Linked DNA regions of Homo sapiens: regions 1 and 3 are each linked to region 2. Evidence: promoter capture Hi-C in 16 types of primary human blood cells and fetal thymus (Javierre and others, 2016). All regions are on one chromosome and are shown on one strand. The core of a region is centred on a gene start or on the middle of the fragment in contact, and the rest is flanking DNA. Distances in the headings are between cores, read along the strand shown. Region 1 has its middle 36 kb from the start of ADAR. Region 2 holds the start of KCNN3 (potassium calcium-activated channel subfamily N member 3). Region 3 overlaps KCNN3 (potassium calcium-activated channel subfamily N member 3).

Region 1 (4,281 bases), core at 1,413-3,912, 230 kb after region 2:
CTGGACAATATTGTCTACACAGAAACACCAAAAGAATCCATTAAAAATTACGATGACTAATAAGATAATTAAATTAGGTATCTGAGACCAGGTGTGGTGGCTCACGCCTGCAATCATGGCATTTTGGGAGGCTAAGGCAGGAGGATCGCTTGAGCTCAGGTGTTTGAGACAAGCCTGGGCAACATGGTGAAACCCTGTCTCTACCAAAAATACAAAAAATTAAAAATAGCCAGGTGTAGTGGCATATGCCTGTAGTCCCAGCTATTTGGAGGGCTGAGGTGGGAAATCGCTTGAGCCCAGGAGGTGGCGGCCCCCGGAGATTGTGCCACAGCACTCCAGCCTGGGTGACAAAGTGAGACTCTGTCTCAAAAAAAAAAAAAAAAAAAAGGCCAGGAGCGGTGGCTCACGCCTGTAATCCCAGCACTTTGGGAGGCCGAGGCGGGTGGATCATGAGGTCAGGAGATCGAGACCATCCTGGCTAACAAGGTGAAACCCCGTCTCTACTAAAAATACAAAAAATTAGCCAGGCGCGGTGGCGGGCGCCTGTAGTCCCAGCTACTCGGGAGGCTGAGGCAGGAGAATGGCGTGAACCCGGGAAGCGGAGCTTGCAGTGAGCCGAGATTGCGCCACTGCAGTCCACAGTCTGGCCTGGGCGACAGAGCGAGACTCCGTCTCAAAAAAAAAAAAAAAAAAAAAAAAAAAAAAAAAAAAGGTAGCTCAGTAAAAGCCCAACATTCAAAAATGAAAGCAACTTTTATCTATAGAGTCAATGAAATGTCAATTAAAATCTCAACAAGTTATTTTGTGGATATTGGCAAACTGATCCTAAGTTTTACAGAGAGGCCAAAGAACCAGAATAGCTAACACAATATTGAAAGAGAAGAAAAAAGTTGTGTAACTGATATTACCAGACTTCAAGACTTCCTCCCATAATACTTTTTTTTTTTTTTTGAGATGGAGTCTTGCTATGTCCCCCAGGCTGGAGTGCAGTGGCGTCATCTCAGCTCATCGCAACCTCCGCCTCCCCAATTCAAGCAATTCTCCTGCCTCAGCCTCCCAAGTAGGTGGGATTACAGGTGCACACCACCAGGCCCAGCTAATTTTTGTGTTTTTAGTACAGATGAGGTTTCACCATGTTGGCCAGGCTGGTCTCAAACTCCTGACCTCAGGTGATCTGCCCGCCTTGGCCTCCTAAAGTGCTGGGATTATAGGAGTGAGCCACCGCGCCCATAATATTTTAATTAAGAAGTGTGATATCAGCAAAAAAAAAAAAAAAAAAAAAAGCAAATACAGCAGTGGAACAGAATAGAAAACCCAGAAATAGACCCATGTAAATATAGTCAATTGATCTTTGACAAAGAAGCAAAGGCAATGTAATGGGGAAAAGATAGCCTTTTCAACAAATGATACTGGAATATGTGGACATCCATACACACACACAAAATCTAGACACAGACTTAACAAAAATTAACTCAAAATGGACCGTAAACCTAAATACAAAAGGCAGAGCTATAAAAACTTTTAAAACTGTAATACTCCTAGATGATAACATAGGAGAACATCTAGATGACCTAGGGTTTGGCAATGGCTTTTAAGATACATCAGGCCAGGCCTGTAATTACGCTTGTAATCCCAGCACTTTGGGAGGCCAAGGTGGGTGGATCACGAGGTCAGGAGTTTGAGACCAGCCTGGCCAATATGGTGAAACTCCATCTCTACTAAAAATACAAAAATTAGCTGGGTGTGGTGGCGTGTGTCTGTAGTCCCAGCTACTCGGGAGGCTGAGGCAGAAGAATCACTTGAACCCGGGAGGCAGAGGTTGCAGTGAGCCGAGATCGTGCCACTGCACTCTAGTCTGGGTGACAGAGCGAGAATCTGTCTCAAAAAAAAAAAAAATACAACATCAAAGGCACAATCCTTGAAAGAAAGAATTAATAAGCTGGACTTTTGTTGAAATTAAAAACTTCTGCTCTGTGAAAGACACTGTCAAGAGAATAAAGACAGAAACCACACTAGGAGAAAATATTTACAAAAGACATATCTGATGAAGGACTGTTATCCAAAATATACAAAGAACTATTAAAATTAAGTAATAAAAAAGTAAACAACCCAGCTAAAAACTGGACCCTTATTTGATCATTACACATTGTAAACATGTATTGAAATATCACATGTACCTCATTAATATGTACAATTTTTATTATTTTTTTTTTTTTTTTTTGAGACAGAGTCTCATTCTGTTGCCCAGGCTGGAGTGCAGTTGTGTGATCTCGGCTCAAAGCTCCACCTCCCAGGTTCACACCATTCTCCTGCCTCAGCCTCCGGAGTAGCTGGGACTACAGGTACCCACCACCACACCTGGCTAATTTTTTTGTATTTTTAGTAGAGATGGGGTTTCACCATGTTAGCCAGGATGGTCTCAAGCTCCTGACCTCGTGACCCGCCCGTCTCGGCCTCCCAAAGTGCTGGGATTACAGGCGTGAGCCACTGTGCCCAGCCAATATGTACAATTATTATATGTCAATTAAAAATAAAGAAATATAAAAGGGGCCAACGATCTCAACAGACACCTCACCAAAGAAGATATACAAATGGCAAATAAGCATATGAAAAGATGCTGCTCATCGTATCATCAGGGAAATGCAAATTAAAACAAGATACCACTATACCTCTATTAGAACGGCCAAAATCAAGAACGCTGACAATACCAAATACTGACAAGGATGTGGAGCAACAGGAACTTGCATCCATTGCAGGCAGGAATGCAAAATAGTATAGTCACTTTGGAAACAGTGTAGTGGTTTCTTGCAAAACCAAACATTTTCAACACACAATCCAGCACTCACACTCTTTGGTGTTTACCCAAATGAACTGAAATCTTACGTTCACACAAAAATCTGTTCCTATGGTATAAATATGTCCCAAAGTTCATGTGATGGAAATTTCCTCCCCAATGCAGCAGTGTTGAGAGGTGAGACCTTTAAGAGGTGATTCTTATGGACACCATTATCTAAGGAATGGGTTAGTTATCATGGGAGTGGGTTCCTGATAAAAGAATGATTTTGGCCAGATGCAGTGGCTCATGGCTGTAAACTCAGCACTTTGGGAGGCCAAGAAGTGAGGAATTGCTTGAGGCCAGGAGCTCAAGACCAGCCTGGGCAATATAACCCTGTCTCTACAAAAAATTAAAGAAAAAAAAATTGGCAAAAGTGGTGGCATGTGCCTTTAGTCCCAGCTGAGTACTCAGGAAGCTGAGGCAGGAAGATCACCTAAGCCCAGGTGTTAAGGTTATAGTGAGCTATGATTATGCCACTACACTCCAGCCTGGGTGACAGAGCAAAACCCTATCTCTAAAAAAATGAAAATAAAAAATAAAATAAAAAGAATGAGTTTGGCCACCTTTCTCTCTCACTGTTGTGTGTGCCTTCCTGCCCTTTCATCTTCCACCATGAGATGATGCAGCCCTAAAACCCTCATCAGATGCTGATGCCATGTTCTGGAACCTTCCAGCCTCCAGGACCATGAGCCAAATAAACTTATATTGTTTGTAAGTTACCCAGTCTGTAGTAGTCTATTGGAGCAGCAGAAAACAGACTAAGACTCCTGCACACAGATGTTTATAGCAGCTTTATTCATAATTGCCAATATTTGGAAGCAACTAATATATCTTTCAGTAGATAAATAAGTGGACATGTCTATCAGTAGATAAATAAATGGATAAATAAGCTGTGATACATACAGACAAGGGAATATTATTCAACACTAAAAAGAAAGAAGTTATAAAGCCATGAAAAGACATGAAGGCAACTTAAATGCATATTACTAAGTGAAAGAAGCCAATCTGAAAAGTCTACATTCTGTATAATTCCAAATCTATAACATTCTGGAAAAGGCAAAACTATGGAGATGGTAAAAAGGTCAGTGGTTGCTGGAGGTTATTAGTGAGGGAGAGATAAATCCATGGAGCACAAAGGATTTTTAGGGCAGTGAAATGACCTTGTTTGATAACGTAATGGTAATTATGTCATTATACATCTGTCCAAACCCACAGAATGTACAACATCAAAGTGACCCCTGATGTAAACTATGGACTTTGGGTGATAATGATGTGTCAGTGTAGGTTCATTAATTATAGCCAATGTGTTACTCTGGTGGGGGATGTTAATAGGGGGTAGGCTATGCATGTATGGGGGAATGGGGTTTCCCACAGGAAATCTCTGTGCCTTTTGCTCAGTTTTGCTGTGAATCAAAAACTTCTCTAAAAAATAGTCTATGAAGAAC
Region 2 (4,435 bases), core at 1,406-3,905:
CTACCCAAGCTATCTTTCATCCTTATCCATGATGGCAGGACGTGCTCTGATAGGCCCCATTTGGATCCCATTGGCACAGCCAGAAGAACTGGAGGCAAGAGGCTGGCCAGAAAGGTTAGCTGAGGCAGAAGGCAGCTCATGGGGGTAGAGTGAGCATAGGAATACCCAGGCCTGGAGCCTGTTCTCCAAAATTGATTTTTCACAGCCCAGAAAACTGTATCCAACACTAAAAAACCAACACGAACAGCACATTTTTGCTACTAACAACATATTCATGATAATTTATTAGAGGATCATTAAACCTAAGTATGCGATCTGGAGCCTTGAACCAAGCAGGTGGCTCTGTCTGCGGATGGAGGAGAGGGAGGGAAATCAAGAATACAGAAGGGAAGGGCAGGGAAGGCAGAGGATGCTGAAGGGGTTGGGGGTGGGTTCTAGAGGGCTTGGTCATGGGAAAACACATGAGACCCCAGGCTTGCATCTGAGGCCTGGTACTGTGACTTCTAGTGTGTGTGTGTGTGTGTGTGTGTGTGTGTGTGTGTGTGTGTGTGTGTGTGTTGGCAGGGGTAGGGGAAATGATTATGTCATTGATATCAAGATTATTATTTTATATATATATATATTTAGAGACAGGGTAACACTCTGTCGCCCAGGTTGAAGTGCAGTGGCGCTATCACAGCTCACTGCAGCCTCAAACTCTTGGGCTCAAGCAGTCCTCCTCCCTCAGCCTCCTGGGTAGCTGGACTACAGGCACTCGCCACCATGTCCAGCTAATTTAAAAAATTTTGTAGAGTCTGGGTCTTGCTATGTTGTCCAGGCTGGTCTCGAACTCCTGACTTCAATCAACCCTCCTGCCTTGGGCTCCCAAAGTGCTGGGATTATAGGCATGAGCCACCATGCCTGGCCAGAATCAAGATTATTGTGCAAGAGTAATTGTCACGTATCTGGGGTCGTGGCTTGTATTACAAGTAATATTTAGCTCTCAATCATCAGGGTTAATGGGGGATTGGAGAGGTGAGAACTGATATACAGAGGGGACTCTGGGCTCATTTTGGGGGGGCTCTGTCCCTCCCTGATCTGGACACTTGCTGCTTACCAGTCAGGAATGCTGTTTTAGGAGCTTCCTATGTGTATATGTGTGCATGTGTGCATGCATGGGCTAGTGTGTGCACACAACCATGTACACATGTGCACATATGTCCACCTGCTTACATGTTTTCTGGATGTGTGTCTGTGTATGTGTGCATGGATCTCCTACCCTTTCCTCTTCCCATCGAGGGAGGGAGCTGGACAGAGGCCAAAGGGTGATGGGGAATCAAGAGCCAGAGAGGAAGAGGCCTGCCTTTTAAAACCCCAGGTGTTCTGGGGAATTCCCTCATGGTGACTTCCTTTCTGATTCCTAAGGCTGCTGTGGTTAGAAATGAAAATGAATTCAGCTCTGGTCCCATCCTTTGGAACCCCCTCTGCACACAGTGGGGGCTTAATAAATACTTGATGATGATGGTTCTGAACCTGGGAAGCCAGCAGCTGTTCCTAGTTCTGACTCTCAGAGCCCCATGGGGCAAATCAGGCAGGGAATGACCATGGGGGAATCTTCAGTCTTCCTGCCAGATCCCCCTGTGACTACACACCCAGCTGTTAGGGAAGGGGCTGGAGCCATGGTCCACTTCACACACCCTGCTTTGGAGAGGCCAGTTCTTCCTCAGCAGCTTCTCTTTTGTTTTCCCCAACTAACATTTGAACAATATTTATTGAACAACCACTTTGTACTGAATATCATAGTGGAAATGCATCCTGGGAGAAAGTATCTGATCTGTGGGGTCAGACTGACTAAGTTCAAATCCCAGCATCTTTAATTACAAGCGGGATGACATCTGACAAGTTACATATCTATGTTTGAGCGTTTGAGTGTTTTTTCCACTTTCCTTTCTCTCCTTCTTCTCCTTCTCCTTCTTCTTCTTCTTCTTCCAATTTTCATCTGTAAAAGGAGAGTGATGACATCATTTTTGTGGGGTTGATGTGAGGGTTGGAAATAACAGAGAGGACCCTGAACACGAGGCGTAGGCACTCAGTCAATGGTAGGTGAGTTTATCCACCGGGTGTTAGAAGGTGTGGATCCCCCCTGCTTCTGTGACCTTGACGTTGTTACTCAACACCTCTAAGCATCAGGCTTTGTAAATGAGACCATACTGCCCACCTCCTTGGGTGTTTGGAGACTGTATCCGGATAATATATGTGAAACAACCTATCGTAAACCCTGGTGGTTAATAAATGTTTGCCTTCCCCTCCGTCTGCCCCCTCATCAGGGTGCACACCTCCCCTCCTTCGGAGGCCCTCTGTCCCTCCTCCCCATCGCCCAGCGTGAGCGAACATCCCTTATCGCCGTGGGCTTAAGGGTTGTGGCCATACCTGTCAGAGGAAAGAGGACAGCGGCTCAGCTCCGGGGTGGGGGAGCAAAAACTACAGTTCCCAGTCCTCGCTGCGCCGCCACTGGGGCCGGAGCCCAGGACGCCAGGCCCCTCCTCTGGGGAGGAGCCTATGCGGGGGGCGGAGCTAGGAGGAGGTTGGAGAGTTAAGCCAAGCCAATGAGACCAGCTGCTAATAAGTGGGCTTGGCTTACAATGTAACAGTGGCAGGAGGAGGCGAGCGAAGCTATTGAGCCAGCGAGGAGTGAAGCTGAGCCTGGCCTCACACGCTCCTAGAGGACCACCTCCTGAGAGAGTTCTTTCACCCCCTCTTCTTTCTCCAAGCTCCCCTCCTGCTCTCCCTCCCTGCCCAATACAATGCATTCTTGAGTGGCAGCGTCTGGACTCCAGGCAGCCCCAGAGAACCGAAGCAAGCCAAAGAGAGGACTGGAGCCAAGATACTGGTGGGGGAGATTGGATGCCTGGCTTTCTTTGAGGACATCTTTGGAGCGAGGGTGGCTTTGGGGTGGGGGCTTGTGCTGCAGGGAATACAGCCAGGCCCCAAGATGGACACTTCTGGGCACTTCCATGACTCGGGGGTGGGGGACTTGGATGAAGACCCCAAGTGCCCCTGTCCATCCTCTGGGGATGAGCAGCAGCAGCAGCAGCAGCAGCAACAGCAGCAGCAGCCACCACCGCCAGCGCCACCAGCAGCCCCCCAGCAGCCCCTGGGACCCTCGCTGCAGCCTCAGCCTCCGCAGCTTCAGCAGCAGCAGCAGCAGCAGCAGCAGCAGCAGCAGCAGCAGCCACCGCATCCCCTGTCTCAGCTCGCCCAACTCCAGAGCCAGCCCGTCCACCCTGGCCTGCTGCACTCCTCTCCCACCGCTTTCAGGGCCCCCCCTTCGTCCAACTCCACCGCCATCCTCCACCCTTCCTCCAGGCAAGGCAGCCAGCTCAATCTCAATGACCACTTGCTTGGCCACTCTCCAAGTTCCACAGCTACAAGTGGGCCTGGCGGAGGCAGCCGGCACCGACAGGCCAGCCCCCTGGTGCACCGGCGGGACAGCAACCCCTTCACGGAGATCGCCATGAGCTCCTGCAAGTATAGCGGTGGGGTCATGAAGCCCCTCAGCCGCCTCAGCGCCTCCCGGAGGAACCTCATCGAGGCCGAGACTGAGGGCCAACCCCTCCAGCTTTTCAGCCCTAGCAACCCCCCGGAGATCGTCATCTCCTCCCGGGAGGACAACCATGCCCACCAGACCCTGCTCCATCACCCTAATGCCACCCACAACCACCAGCATGCCGGCACCACCGCCAGCAGCACCACCTTCCCCAAAGCCAACAAGCGGAAAAACCAAAACATTGGCTATAAGCTGGGACACAGGAGGGCCCTGTTTGAAAAGAGAAAGCGACTGAGTGACTATGCTCTGATTTTTGGGATGTTTGGAATTGTTGTTATGGTGATAGAGACCGAGCTCTCTTGGGGTTTGTACTCAAAGGTAGGGGCTGTGGTTTCTCTTTATACCTTGAACAAAAGGAATATGTAGGTAGCAAGAGAGGGATTGAGAGAGGGGGATTGTGAGAGAGAGAGATTGAGAGAGAGAGAGAGAGAGAGAGAGAGAGAGAGAGATTGAGAGATTGGGAGGGAGACTGGGAGAGAGAGGTGGTGGTGGTGGTGAGAGGCGCTTGCTCAGTTATATTCAACACTCTAACTTCCCGTGGTTTTCCTTCTTGATCCCGGGAGAATTCATTCCTAGCTTCCTCTGGGGGGTAGGGGACATCCCCACACACTGTGTCTAATTTGCAGACTCTCTGTTAGGGAGGATTCAATAATCCCTTCTGAGAAATCGCTTTTCCTCCTGGCTCACTCGTACTAAAGCATAACCCAGCAGCTTAACGCACCAATTAATTACACTCCGCCTTCATGTGTTTGCCAGTTCCTGCGACTTCCCCTTCTTTCCTCCCCTCCCTGCTCCACTCCATTTTCCTGAGGATAAAAAAGAAATAAATGTCTGGGTGGGGGGTGGGGA
Region 3 (4,632 bases), core at 1,221-3,720, 130 kb after region 2:
GTGTTCTTTCTGCTATGCCAAGGCTAACCATAGACACACGAGATGAAAATAGCACTTTTTTTTAGTGCACCTATGTGCCCGGCACTGCTCTAATCATTTTAGACATATCAGCTCCTTTAACCCTCACAGTAACTCTCTGTGAGGTGGTACAAGTATTATCCTCTTTTACAGGTGGGAAGACTGAGGATAAGTTCATGCAGACATTAAGGTGCAAAGCCCGGATTCAAACATAGGTGTTCTGGCCCTGGAACCTGTAGGTTCAGCTATACCCCAGCCAGCTTTGCGGCCTTTCTGCAAGCCAGTGTGTGGGCAGTAGGTGGATGGTGCTGATGCCACGTGTGGGAGACACAGGCAAAGAGCTGGGGTTGGCTGGGTGGGTCAGGATGGGATTTGAAGTGGGTCCTGAAGGGCCAGTTAGAAGGCATCAGGGAGGACAGGGCAGGAGTGACAGGAGCAAGAGAGCCATGTGTGCAAGGCAAGCTTGGAGCACAGCAACCCTGAAGCGGTGGTCAGAGCATGAAGCCAAGGAGGCACAGTCGAAGGCGGGAGGAAAGCAGGCCAGTGAGCCGCTGCAGATGCCAGAGGAGGGCAGTGTTCCGAGGAGAGAGGCACCGGTGGGGTCAGAGGCCGCCAGGGGGCCAAGCCAGGTACGTGTTGTTGGCTTCCTCATTGGAGAAATTCGCAAGCACAGGGTTCACAGCTCAGTGGGCAGGTCTGACTGTGTGACTCTGAAGATTGACCGGAAGGCAAGGACGAAGCAGTCCATTTGGCTGCTTTGGAGTTCTGCAGAGGATCTGGCTCAATGCCTGCAAATTTCCAACAAACAAATCAGACCCAGGACAAATGGCTAGAGCCGTCATATCATGTAGATCCATGTGAAAAGAATCCTTTTTTTTTTTTTTTTACAAAACTAGTTTTAAAAAGTATTCAAATTCTTTTGGAGAATAAGGAAGAAGAGGCAGTCATTTCACTTTGGCTTATTTTCTGTCACCCTAGTGCTGTAACAGATCACAGCTAGTGTCATGAAGCTGAGTTCTTATTAATAGTGAGAACTGACTCCAAGCTCAAGGAATTTGGCAGCCACCTTGACAAAGGTTTAATCTGCTGAAGAGAACAGCTGAAATCATTTTAACATGATTCACTGAATTACTGAAGCAAGCCTCACTTTTGTAGAGGGACAGGAAAAGCAGCATGCAGGCCTTAGTCAGTCCACAAGTATTTTAGTGAGCCCCTATTATGTGCTAGACCCTCAGAAGGTACCAAGGAAAGGCTACAGAGAATACTGTAATATAACTTCAGGGTTAGACAAATAGACCAATGGAACAGAATAGAGAACCAAGAAATAGTACCACTTCCACATATAATTTATGAGACAGAGGGAGCATTGAAAGCTAGTAGGAGAAAGGATGGTCTGCACATTAAGTGAAACTGAGATAATTGCTTACCCATGTGAAAAAAATGAAGTTGTATCCCTGCCTCACACCATATGCAAAATCAATTCCAGGCAAATTGAAGACTTAGAAAGGCAACATTTTAAAATATGTAAAAATGTTACAATCTCAGGGAGGGAATGATTTCTGCAAAAACCAAATAACTGCTAATTATAAATTAAAGGATGATAAAGTCACCTACAGTAAAATTTAAAACTTCTATTCATCAAAAATACTGTAGAGAAAAAGGCAAGGCACACACTGGAAGAAGATATTTGCAACACACAAACTGACAAAATTCTTATTATCTAGAATATATAAATAACTTTTAGAATCAATGAGAAAAAACAAAAACAAGCCAATAGAAAAGTGGACAAAAGTCATGAATGACACGCCACAGAAGAGAAAGTATGAATGACAAAGAAACATATGAAAGGCTACTTAAGCTTTTATCATGGAAACGTAAAGTCAAGTCTTGATGAGATCCCAATTCACCCACTAGTGTGGCAGAGATTAAAGTCAGACAATGGCAAGTGTTAATGAGGATATGGAGAAACAGGAACTCTTATCCACCTCTGGTGGAAGCCTAATTGGCACTGGCATCTTAGAAAACAACTTGACATTTCCTAATGAAGTGAAATATGTACATATCCTACAAACCAGCAAACCCAGTCTTAGGTATGTGTCCTAGAGAAACTCTTATGCAGTGTACCAGGAGCTATGATTAAGAATGTTTGGGCTGGGTGAGGTGGCTCATGCCTGTAATCCCAACATTTCAGGAGGTCAAGGCAGGAGAATCTCTTGAGCCCAGGAGTTTGAGGCTACAGTAAGCTATGATTGTGCCACTGCAGTCCAGCCTGGGCAACAGAGTAAGACCCTGTCTCTAAAAATACAATAACAATAAGTCAATAAAAAATAATGTTTGTAGCAGTATTTCTCATTAGAGGAAAAACCCGTAAGCTATCCCACTGTCCATCAACAGGTGAATGAATAAATAAATCATGCCATATTCATATGATGAAATACAATACAGGAATAAAAATAGACTATAGCTACATATGTCAATATAATATATATGTTGAACAGAAAAGAAGCAATTCATAGAAGAGTTCACTGTATTAGTTATCTGTTGCTACATAACAACTTGCTCCAAAATTTAGCAGCTAAAAACAGCAGACATTTACCATCTCAGGGTTGCTGTGGGTCAGGAATTCAGGTGCAGCTTAAATGGGTACCTCTGCCTCAAGTTCTCTCATGAGATTGTCAGGCTGTCAGCCAGGGCTGTGGTCTCACCTCAAGGCTTGACTTAAAGAACACCTGCTTCTAAGCTACTCATGTGGTGGTTGGCAGGCTGTGTCCCTTGCCATGTGGCACTCCACGGGCTTGCCTCCCGACATGGCCTGTGGATTCTCCCAGGGAGAGTGATCCAAAAGATAACTAGTGAGAGATCACCCAAGACAGAAGCCATGATCTTACCATAACCTAACTTCAGAAATGAAAGTCTATCACTTCTGCCATACTCTATGTGTTAGAAACCAGTTACTTGGTCCAGCCCACACTCAAAAGGAAAGGATTGCAAAAGTGTGTGAAGACCTCAAGAGGAGGGGGGATATCGAGGTCATTTTAGAAGCTTCCTACCATACTCTTGTGGTATGATTTCATCCTTATGAAGGTCGGAAATAGGAAAAATGAAATTACATATTGCTTAGGTAATCCTGCCTACATGGAAGCACTATGAAGAAAAACGAGGAAATGATAAACATGACATTCAGGGTAATGATGATCCTGGGGTGGGGGGCACTAAGAATGGAGAGAACATACAAGTAGATCCCACAGGTTGGAGCTGGATGGTGAGTTCATGGTGCTTATTTTCTTTCTGTGTTTCTTGATGTCATTTAATGTTGCATGTAGTTTTGTTTTTTCTCTTTGGTTTGGTGTTCTGTTGATATGATCAAAGTTACATGTGCATACACTGTAGAGTCAATCCTTCCGTGGTATTTGCTGTCTTCCACCAGCTCTTCCCATTTACTGTTCTCCAGAGGCAGCTACTTTTACCTTCTTTTGCTAATTAATTTTAGTATTTACCTCCATGTCTGTAAGTAATATGTGTGTATTGCTACCTTTTGATGCTTTGGTTTATTTAGGTATTATCTATTCCCTTCCCACTCTGGGAGATGAAAATTTAGCTCCCTTTCCTCTCCTCCAACTCTTCCTCTCCCTTCATCTTCCTTTTATAATTACATCATAATTTTGGTTAAAGCAGTAATCAGTGTTTACATTACTCAGTCAACACTAATTTGACTCTATTCATAGTTGAGCCTTGTAGTAAAAAATATGATAACTTTTCCCTTCCTGCAGAACTTTTCATTTTTCCTGGAGTTGTTAATGATCGTGTTTGTTTGTTTGCTTAGTTTTCTATGTATTCGTCATTAATGCAAGTGCAAACTCTGGCAGTTGTCTAAACCTCTTTTCAGGATGTTCAGGCACATTAAGTTTCCTATCAATTTCATCTCCTTGGAAGTGTCTCCCAGAGCCTCTTGACCTGCTCCAGCCCGGACGGGTTGTCCTCCGCACCTGGTGAGCACCTGTCCTATGAGGGCCTCCCTGTAGCATCACCCTGAGCTCGTTACCTTTATTCCTTGTCTTCCTCCTTGGTTTACTTCTTTGTTTTGGTGAAGCATACCTCCTGTGTCTTCCTGAGAGAGGGTGCATGGGAGGCAAACCCGTGACAACCTTACGTATCTGAAAATGTCTTCGTTCCACCCTCAGACTGAACTAATACTTTGGCCAATTCAGATTTCTGGTCTCTGGTTTGGAATTCTGATTTGGAAATAATTTTCCTCCAGAATTTTGAAGGCTTTATTCCATGGCCTTCTAGCTTCCAGTGTTGCTGTCAAAAAGTCCGAAGCTGTTGTAATTTCTGGTTCTTTGTATTTGGCCTCTTTTATACCCTCCCCCAAAACCCCTAAAGCTCTGTAGGATTGTCTCCTTTCCCCTGGTGTTCTGAAATTTCACAATAATGTGCCTTGGTGTGCATCTATTTTCATCCACTGTGCTGGGGACAGTGAGCCTTTGATCTAGAAACTCATGCCCTTAAGTTCTGGGGATTTTTGTTTTTGAATGATTTTTAAAATAATTACTTCTCTCCTTCTTTCTCCTTCTTTTCCCCCCAGTTGTTTCTTTCTGTAACTTCTACTGTTTG

Evidence for each region. The method cuts DNA at HindIII sites, captures the fragments that hold promoters and counts their contacts. A CHiCAGO score of 5 or more calls a contact.
Region 1: a fragment that was not itself captured here is called in contact with the fragment with the promoter of KCNN3 in region 2 in 2 of 17 cell types (M2 macrophages and M0 macrophages); the score reaches 6.2 in M2 macrophages.
Region 3: a contact is called between a fragment that was not itself captured here and the fragment with the promoter of KCNN3 in region 2, in 1 of 17 cell types (endothelial precursors). The highest score is 5.1, in endothelial precursors.

The regions. Positions count from the first base shown.
Region 1 is chr1:154,641,916-154,646,196 of GRCh38, reverse strand. No RefSeq gene overlaps it. Among named protein-coding and RNA genes, the nearest start is that of ADAR, 36 kb to the right of the region's middle. The HindIII fragment of the contact is 6,261 bases long and covers 1-4,281 here.
Region 2 is chr1:154,868,501-154,872,935 of GRCh38, reverse strand. KCNN3 (potassium calcium-activated channel subfamily N member 3) reads left to right here and starts at 2,655. Exons shown (of 8, transcript NM_002249.6): 1 at 2,655-3,904. The coding sequence starts at 2,972. RefSeq lists enhancers at 2,786-2,875, 1,948-2,904, 4,312-4,435. The HindIII fragment of the contact is 14,105 bases long and covers 1-4,435 here.
Region 3 is chr1:154,737,983-154,742,614 of GRCh38, reverse strand. The region is part of intron 3 of KCNN3 (potassium calcium-activated channel subfamily N member 3); the gene reads left to right. Among named protein-coding and RNA genes, the nearest start is that of KCNN3, 130 kb to the left of the region's middle. RefSeq lists an enhancer at 501-1,001. The HindIII fragment of the contact is 1,184 bases long and covers 1,879-3,062 here.